2 separate regions of the Homo sapiens genome follow, and region 1 is linked to region 2. Evidence: promoter capture Hi-C in 16 types of primary human blood cells and fetal thymus (Javierre and others, 2016). All regions are on one chromosome and are shown on one strand. Each heading gives the region's core, a stretch centred on a gene start or on the middle of the fragment in contact. The rest is flanking DNA. Distances are from core to core; before and after follow the strand shown.

Region 1 (3,913 bases), core at 1,402-3,901, 95 kb before region 2:
GGTGGATCACCTGAGGTCAGGAGTTCGAGACCAGCCTGGCCAATATGGTGAAACACCGTCTCTACTAAAAATACAAAAATTAGCCAGACATGGTGGTGCCTGCCTCTAATCCCAGCTACCAGGGAGGCTGAGGCAGGAGAATCGCTTGAACCCAGGAGGTGGAGGTTGCAGTGAGCCAAGATTGTGCCATTGCATTCCAGCCCGGGTGACAGAGTGAGACTCCGTCTCAAAAGAAAAAAAAAAGAAACAGCAATTAAAGAAGACCTAAATAAATGGAAAGACATCCTGTGTTTATGGATTGGAAGACTTAATATTGTTAAAATGCCAATAATCCCTAAAATGATCTATGGATTCAATTTAATCCTTATCAAAATCTCAGCTGCCTCTGTTGTAGAAATTGACACGCTGCTTCTAAAATTCATATGGAAATGCAAGGGACTCAGAATTACAAAATAATCTTGAAAAAGATGAAAAAAATTGGAAGACTCACATTTCTTGACTTTAAAACTTACTAGAAAGCTGTAATAATGAAAACATCATGGTAGTGACTTAAGAATCTACATTGGATTAATAGAATAAAATTGAGACTCTAGAAATAAGCCCACACATTCACAGTCAATTGATTTTTGACAAGAATGTTAGTCTTTTCAACAAATGGTGAGAGACAACTGTATATCCACATGCAAAAGAATGAATTTGAGCCCCTACCTCATTCCATATACAAAACTTAACTCAAAATAGATCATAGACCCAAATATAAGAGCTAAAGCGACAAAACTCTTAGAAGAAAAGATAAGTATAAATCTTTATGACCTTGAGTTAGGCAATGGTTTCTTAGATATGACACCTAAAGCACAAGTAATAAAAGAAAAAATTCATAAATTGGAGTTCATCAAAATTTAAAACTTTGTATTCTTTTTTTTCTTTGTTCCTTTTTTGTAAGGACAGGGTTTCTGTTCTTGTTTTTTTTTTTTTTTTTTTTTTTTGAGATGGAGTCTTGCTCTGTCACCCATGTCACCCAGGCTGGGGTGCAATGGCGCAATCTCAGCTCACTGCAACCTCAGCCTCCCAGGTTCAAGTGATTCTCCTGCCTCAGCCTCCCGAGCAGCTGGGATCACAGGCACGCACCACCATGCCAGGCTAATTTTTGTATTTTTAGTAAAGACGGTGTTTCACCATGTTGGCCAGGCTGGTCTGGAACTCCTGACCTCGTGACCCGTCCACCTCAGCCTCCCAAAGTGCTGGGATTACAGGCGTGAGCCGCTGCGCCCAGCCCCTGAGACAAGGTCCTATTCTGTTGCCCAGGATGAAGTGCAGTGAAGTGATCATGGCTCCCTGCACCTTGAACTCCTGGGCTCAAGTGATCTTCCTGCCTAGCTGGCACATCATCAGGCATATAGGCATGTGCTACCATGCCCAGGTAATTTTTTTGATTTTTTGTAAAGATGGGGAGCAGGGGGCGGGTCTCATTATATTTTCCAGGCTGGTCTTGAACTACTGACCTCAAAGTGATCCTCCCACCTCAGCCTACCAAAGCACTGGGATTACAGGCATAAGCCACCCCACCTGGCCAAAAACTTTGTTTCAAAGCACCCAGAAAATGAAAAGACAAACCACCTAATTTTGTGTTTTTAGTAGAGATGGGGTTTTACCATGTTGGCCAGGCTGGTCTCAAACTGCCGAACTCAAAAGATCCGCCCGCCTCAACCTCCCAAAATGCTGGGATTACAGGCATGAGCCACTGTACCCAGCCTAAATTAAGGATCTTGAGGTGGAGAAATTATCCTGGATTATCTGGATAGGTCCCATTGCAAAGTTTCTCGTAAGCGGGGAGGCAAGAGGGTCAGAGTCAGAAAAAAGAGATGTGATAATGGAAGCAGAGATTGATACAATGAGATCAAGAGCCAGAGCAAAGGGGGTGGGATTTAGGCCGGGCTTGGTGGCTCACACCTGTAATCCCAGCACTTTGGGAGGCCGAGGCCAGCGGATCACTTGAGCTTGTGAGTTCAAGAGCAGCCTGGCCAACCTGGTGAAACCTCATCCCTACTAAATATACAAAAATTAGCCACGCGTGGTGAGGCATGCCTATAATCCTAGCTATTCGGGAGGCTGAGGCAGGAGAATCACTTGAACCCGGGAGGTGGAGTTTGCAGTGAGCTGAGATTGTGCCACTGCACTCCAGCCTGGGAGACAAATAATAATAATAATAATAATAATAATAATAATAATAATAATAATGACTTTCTTTTTAAAATTTCAGTTCCCACTGTTTGAGCTAGCATATGGAAATTCAATTGACACTTTGTTCTGCTAACTTATTAGTTCTAGTAGCTTATTTCCTATTTCCTAGGATTTTCTACATAGATGATCATGTTGTCTGCAATAAGGACAGTGTTTCTTCCTCCTTTCCAATTGGTATGCCTTTTATTTTTTCTTCTTTTATTATTGCACAAGCTAGAACCTCCAGTACCATGCTAAATGCAAACAGCGAGAGTGGACATGTTTGCCTTGTTTCTAATCTTAGAGAGAAATCATTCATACTTTACCCATTAAGACATTAGCTTTAAGTTTTTGTAGCTATATTTTTTGCCGTTGAGACAGTCCCCTTTTATATTTAGTTTGCTGAATTCTTTTTTTTTTCTTTTTTTAATTATCAATGGGGCATGCACGGTGGCTCATGCCTATAATCCTAGCACTTTGGGAGGCTGAGGAGTGGATCACTTGAGGCCAGGAGTTCGAGACCAGCCTGGCCAACATGGCAAAACCCCATCTCTACTAAAAATACAAAAATTAGTTGGGCATGGTGGCGCCTTCCTGTAGTCCTAGCTACTGGAGTGGCTGAGGCACGAGAATTGCTTGCGCCTGGGAGGTGGAGGTTTCAGGGAGCCGAGATCACACCACTGCTCTCCAGCCTGGGCAATGGAGCAAGACTCTCTCTCTCTCAAAAAAAAATTATAATAATGAATGGATTCTGAATGTTATCAAATGCTTCTTTTCTGCAACTATTGAGATGATCATGCATTTTAAACCTTTCTTCTGCTAATATATTGCGTTACATTGGCTTATTTTTGTTTTCTTTGTTAAAGCAACATTGTATTTCTGGAATACATTTCACTTGACCTTGATATTTTATCTCTTTTATTTATTGGGTTTGACTTGCTAATCTTTCTAAAGCATTTTTGCATCTTTTTCCATGAAGGCTGCTGGTCCATATCAGGGACCAGCAGACCTTGTTCTGTAAAGAGTCAGTAAATATTTGAGGCTTTGCAGGTCATATAATTTCTGCTATAACTACTCAACCACTGTAATAGGAAAATAGGAAGAGACAGTATGTACTTTAATAATTGTGGCTGTGTTTCAATAAAACTTTATTTACAGAAACAGATCGTAGTCTGGTTTGGCCCCACAAGCCATGGTTTGCTGACTCCTGGTCTATTTGTTAGGTGTTTGGTTTTGGTATCAGAGTTAACACTGGCCTGATAAAATTACTTAGGAAGTGTTCTCTTCTATGTTTTCTAAAAGTTTTGGTGGGATTCGTATTACTCCCTCCTTAATTATTTGATAGGATTTACCAGTTGAGCCATCGGACCTGAAATTTTTATCAGAAAGATTTACATAAAAAATTAAAATTTTGGCCAGGCATGGTGGCTCATGCCTGTAATCCCAGCACTTTGGGAAGCCGAGGTTCTTGAGGCCAGGAGTTTGAGACCAACCTAGGCAACACAGCAAGACCCCATCTCTACAAAATATATATAAAAATTAGCTGGGCTTGGTGGCGTGCACCTGTGGTTCCCAACCACTCAGGAGGCTAAGATGGTAAACCAGGTACAGACAGAAAGAGCTCTAAGAGAAGCTCTCTATTGGTGGTTCAGGGTCCCCTGAAGATCAGGAAGAATGGAGACAGCCCCAGTTT
Region 2 (4,406 bases), core at 157-2,656:
TAATGGTGTCTGTCTTTCTCAACTGCCCCCTGTTATATGATCTTGGCTGACTGCAGCCTTGGCCTCCCAGGCTCAATCTATACTCCCACCTCGGCCTCCTAAGTGTGACTGAGTTGTGACCCCGACCACAAGCATGTGTATGTTTAAAAGAGATGAATGGGCCAGGTGCGGTGGCTCACACCTGTAATCCCAGAACTTTGGGAGGCCGAGGTGGGTGGATTACGAGGTCAGGAGTTTGAGACCAGCCTGGCCAATGCGGTGAAACCCTGTCTCTACTAAAGATACAAAAAATTAGCTGGGCGTGGTGGCGCACGCCTGTAATCCCAGCTACTTGGAAGGCTGAGGCAGGAGAATTGCTTGAACCTGGAGGTGGAAGTTGCAGTGAGCCGAGATCGCACCATTACACTGCAGCCTGCGCGACAGGGCAAGACTGCATCTGAAAAAAAAAAAAAGAGAGAGAGATGAATGAGCCAGGCGCAGTGGCTTATGTCTGTAATCCCAGCACTTTGGGGAGCTGAGGCGGGCAGATCACAAGGTCAGGAGATCGAGACCATCCTGGCTAACAGGGTCTCTACTAAAAATACAAAAAAAAAAAAAAATTAGCCAGGGATGATGGCACGTGCCTGTAGTCCCAGCTACTTGGGAGGCTGAGGCAGAAGAACTGCTTGAACCCAGGAGGCAGAGGTTGCAGTGAGCCGAGATCGCACCACTGCACTCCAGCCTGGGCAACAGAGCGAGACTCTGTCTCAAAAAAAAGAAAAAATGAATGGGAAAAACAATGATTCACCCATAGGAGTGACCCTCAATAGAGAAAATGCTGCCAGGTGCGGTGGCTCACACCTATAATCCCAGCACCTCAGGAAGCTGAGGTAGGAGGATCATGTGAGGCCAAGAGTTGGAGACCCGCCTGGGCAACGTAGTGAGACACCATCTCTACAAAATACAAAAATTAGTCAGGCGTGGTGGTGCACACCTATAGTCCCGGCTACTTGGAGGCTGAGGGGGGAGGATTGCTTGAGACCGGGAGTTGGAGGCTGCAACGAGCTGAGCCGGCACCACTGCGCTCCAGGCTGGGCGACAGAGCGAGACCCTGTCTCTAAATAAAGAAAAGAAAAGAAAATGTCAGCACTGTAGTTTGGAGTGGGGCTTCTGGGAGATGTCAGATTATTCTGGAAGGCAGGCAGCCACCTCGTTCCACTGGATGGGACAGGCAGGGCTTGGGCCCGGCAGCTCTGAGGTGGCTCTGTGAAGGGCCTGGTGTGTGGTCCCCACCCCACTTACCCCCAGCCCCCACTCACCAGCACTGAGAGCCTCGTAACCTGCAACAGGATCCCCAAAAGGCTGGATCTGACTGGAGGAAGGGCCTCCATGTCTGGCCTCCCCCACCTACTCCAGCTGGGAGAAGCAGGGTGACCTCACAGATGCCACAGGGTGGGGACCAAGTTACCATGGGGACCCGGTTGCCGCCAGTGACCCACTGCCTTTACCTGGCTCCTGCCGCTCCACTGCTTCCTCTGAAACCTCAGTCCACGTCTGAGCCCAACACGGCCAAGGAGGTCTTAGAGCAAAGCTTCCTTCGGGTCGGATTTCCCCAGATCTTGGAACAGGAATCAAGTGCCGCCTAGGAACGGGGTTCATGCCTGGATTCCCAATGCTTTGGGAGGCCAAGGTAGGAGGATCGCTTGAGGCCAGGAGTTTGAGACCAGCATGGGCAACATAGCAAGACCCTGTCTTACAAAAAAACAAAAAAAGAAAAAAATTAACCAGCCTTGGTCATGCACACCTGTAGTCCCAACTACTCAGGAGTCTAAAGTGGGAGAATCGCTTGAGCCCAGGAGATAGAAGTTGCAGTGAGCCAGGATCACTCAAGCCTGGGTGACAGAGCAAGACCCTATCTCTAAACAAAGAAAAAAAATTGAAGGGTGATGAGTTTATTTGGGGAGTGGGCCCTGCAAGCATCCATAGGAAGTCAGAAAGTGAGGCAAGGGGCCAGGCACAGTGGCTCACACCTGTAATCCCAGCACTTTGGAAGGCCGAGGCAGGCAGATCACGAGGTCAGGAGTTTGAGACCTGTTGGGAACAGGCCCCCAAAATCTGGCCATAAACTGGCCCCAAAACTGGCCATAAACAAAATCTCTGCAGCACTGTGACATGTTCGTGATGGCCATGACACCCACGGTGGAAGGTTGTGGGTTTACCGGAATGAGGGCAAGGAACACCTGGCCCACCCAGGGCGGAAAACTGCTTAAAGGCGTTCTTAAACCACAAACAAGAGCATGAGTGATCTGTGCCTTAAGGACATGCTCCTGCTGCAGATAACTAGCCAAACACATCCCTTTATTTGGGCCCAATCCCTTTGTTTCCCATAAGGGATACTTCTATGGGAATCTAATCTAATCTATAGTTAATCTAATATCTATAGAAACAATGCTAATGACTGGCTTGCTGTTAATAAATACGTGGGTAAATCTCCGTTTGAGGCTCTCAGCTCTGAAGGCTGTGAGACCCCCTGATTTCCCACTTCACACCTCTTTATTTCTCTGTGTGTGTGTGTGTGTGTGTGTGTGTGTGTGTGTGTGTTTAATTCCTCTAGTGCTGCTGGGTTAGGGTCTCCCCAGCCAAGCTGGTCTCAGCAGAGACCAGCCTGACCAACATGGTGAAACCCCGTCTCTACTAAAAATACAAAAAAAAAAAAAAATTGGCCTGGCATGGTGGCGTGCACCTATAATCTCAGCTGCTCAGGAGGCTGAGGCAGGAGAATTGCTTGAACCCAGAAGGCAGAGGTTGCAGTGAGCTGAGATCATGCCACTGTACTCCAGCCTGGGCAAGAGAGTGAGACTCTGTGATAAAAAGAGGGAAGGGGAGGGGAGGGGAGGGGAGGGGGAGAGAGAGAGAGAGAGAAAGAAAGAAAGAAGAAAGAAAGAAAAAGAAAGAAAGAGAAAGAAAAAGAAGGAAAGAAAGAAAGAGAAAGAAAAGAAAGAAAAAGAGAGAAAGAAAAAGAAAGAAAGAAAGAAAAAGGAAGGAAGGAAAGAAAAGAAAGAGAAAGAAAAGAAAGAGAGGCAAGGACAGATGAGTTCATGAGCAGGGTTTGAGTTCAGACAACCGGGGCTGATCCCCAAAATCCCCTGGAAAATGGTGCAGAACGCACCTCAGAGTCACCCCACCCAAGGAGCATGAATACTGGGGTATTTATCTTCCATGACCTGTCTGCTTCCTGTTGGACATTAACTCCCGCTGAACCTCCAATCTTACCAGCACAAACACCAGAGAAAGCCCTCCAGCAGATGGTCGGGTGGGGGTCTTGCAGCAGGCGGCTCAAGCAGTGTGCATGGAAACTAAGGCAGAGGACTCTGGGGTAGGGACAGCAAAAAGGAATCCAGAACAAATAAACCCCTAGACATGTGATGATGGGAGCCTTGACCAGGGCTGAGGCCCTGGAAATGGAGACAACAGATGCCAGAAATCTGTAGCAGGTACAACAGATAGAATTGGAGGATGTCAAGACCCACGATGATCTGAGACGTTGCCCAATTTCATGCTAACAAGTTAGCCAACCAGAGCTCCACAGCTGCCACAGGAAGACATGAGACTCCCAGGTCAGAGATCAAAGACAATGTTACTCATGGCAATAGCAGTGAACTAGGTTATAAGCATTTTCCATTCATTCCTTGAGCTCCAAATCCCACAGGGTGATATGACAAGGGCCAGATGATGCCTGGCAGTATCTGAGGTGGGTGTGTTACAGGAGAGGTGGCTTGAGTTTAGGGAACCCAAATCTTTTCTTTTCTTTTTTTTTTTTTTTTTTTTTTTTTGAGATGGAGTCTTGCTCTGTCACCCAGTGCAGTGGTACAATCTCGGCTCACTGCAACCTCCACTTCCCGGGTTCAAGCAATTCTCCTGCCTCAGCCTCCCAAGTAGCTGGGATTATAGGCGCCTACCACCATACCCGGCTACTTTTTTGTATTTTTAGTAGAGACAGGGTTTCTCCAGCTTGGCCAGGCTGGTCTCAGACTCCTAACCTCAGGTGATGCACCCGCCAGCGCCTCCCAAAGTGCTGGGATTACAGGTGGGAGCCACCTCGCCCAGCCTTCTTTTTTTCTTTTTTTGAGATGGAGTCTCACTCTGTCGCCCAGGCTGGAGTGCAGTGGCACCATCTCCACTCGCCGCAACTTCCGCCTCCCAGGTTCAAGCAATTCTCCTGCCTCAGCCTCCCGAGTAGCTGGGATTACAGGCTCGCACCACCAAGCCCAGCTAATTTTTGTATTTTTAGTAGGGATGGGGTTTCACCATATTGGCCAGGCTGGTCTCGAACTCCTGACCTCAGGTGATCCGCCTGCCAGCGCCTCCCAAAGTGCTGGGATTACAGGCATGAGTCACCGCGCCTGGCCAGGAAACCCAAATCTTTT

What was found. Contacts are between HindIII fragments. The CHiCAGO score rates a contact against its expected background, and 5 or more counts as called.
Region 1: a fragment that was not itself captured here is called in contact with the fragment with the promoter of TMEM270 in region 2 in 1 of 17 cell types (M2 macrophages); the score reaches 5.8 in M2 macrophages.

The regions. Positions count from the first base shown.
Region 1 is chr7:73,954,518-73,958,430 of GRCh38, reverse strand. No RefSeq gene overlaps it. Among named protein-coding and RNA genes, the nearest start is that of ELN, 72 kb to the left of the region's middle. The HindIII fragment of the contact is 6,290 bases long and covers 1-3,913 here.
Region 2 is chr7:73,858,159-73,862,564 of GRCh38, reverse strand. TMEM270 (transmembrane protein 270) reads right to left here and starts at 1,406. Exons shown (of 3, transcript NM_182504.4): 1 at 1,299-1,406. The coding sequence starts at 1,370. The HindIII fragment of the contact is 5,367 bases long and covers 1-1,572 here.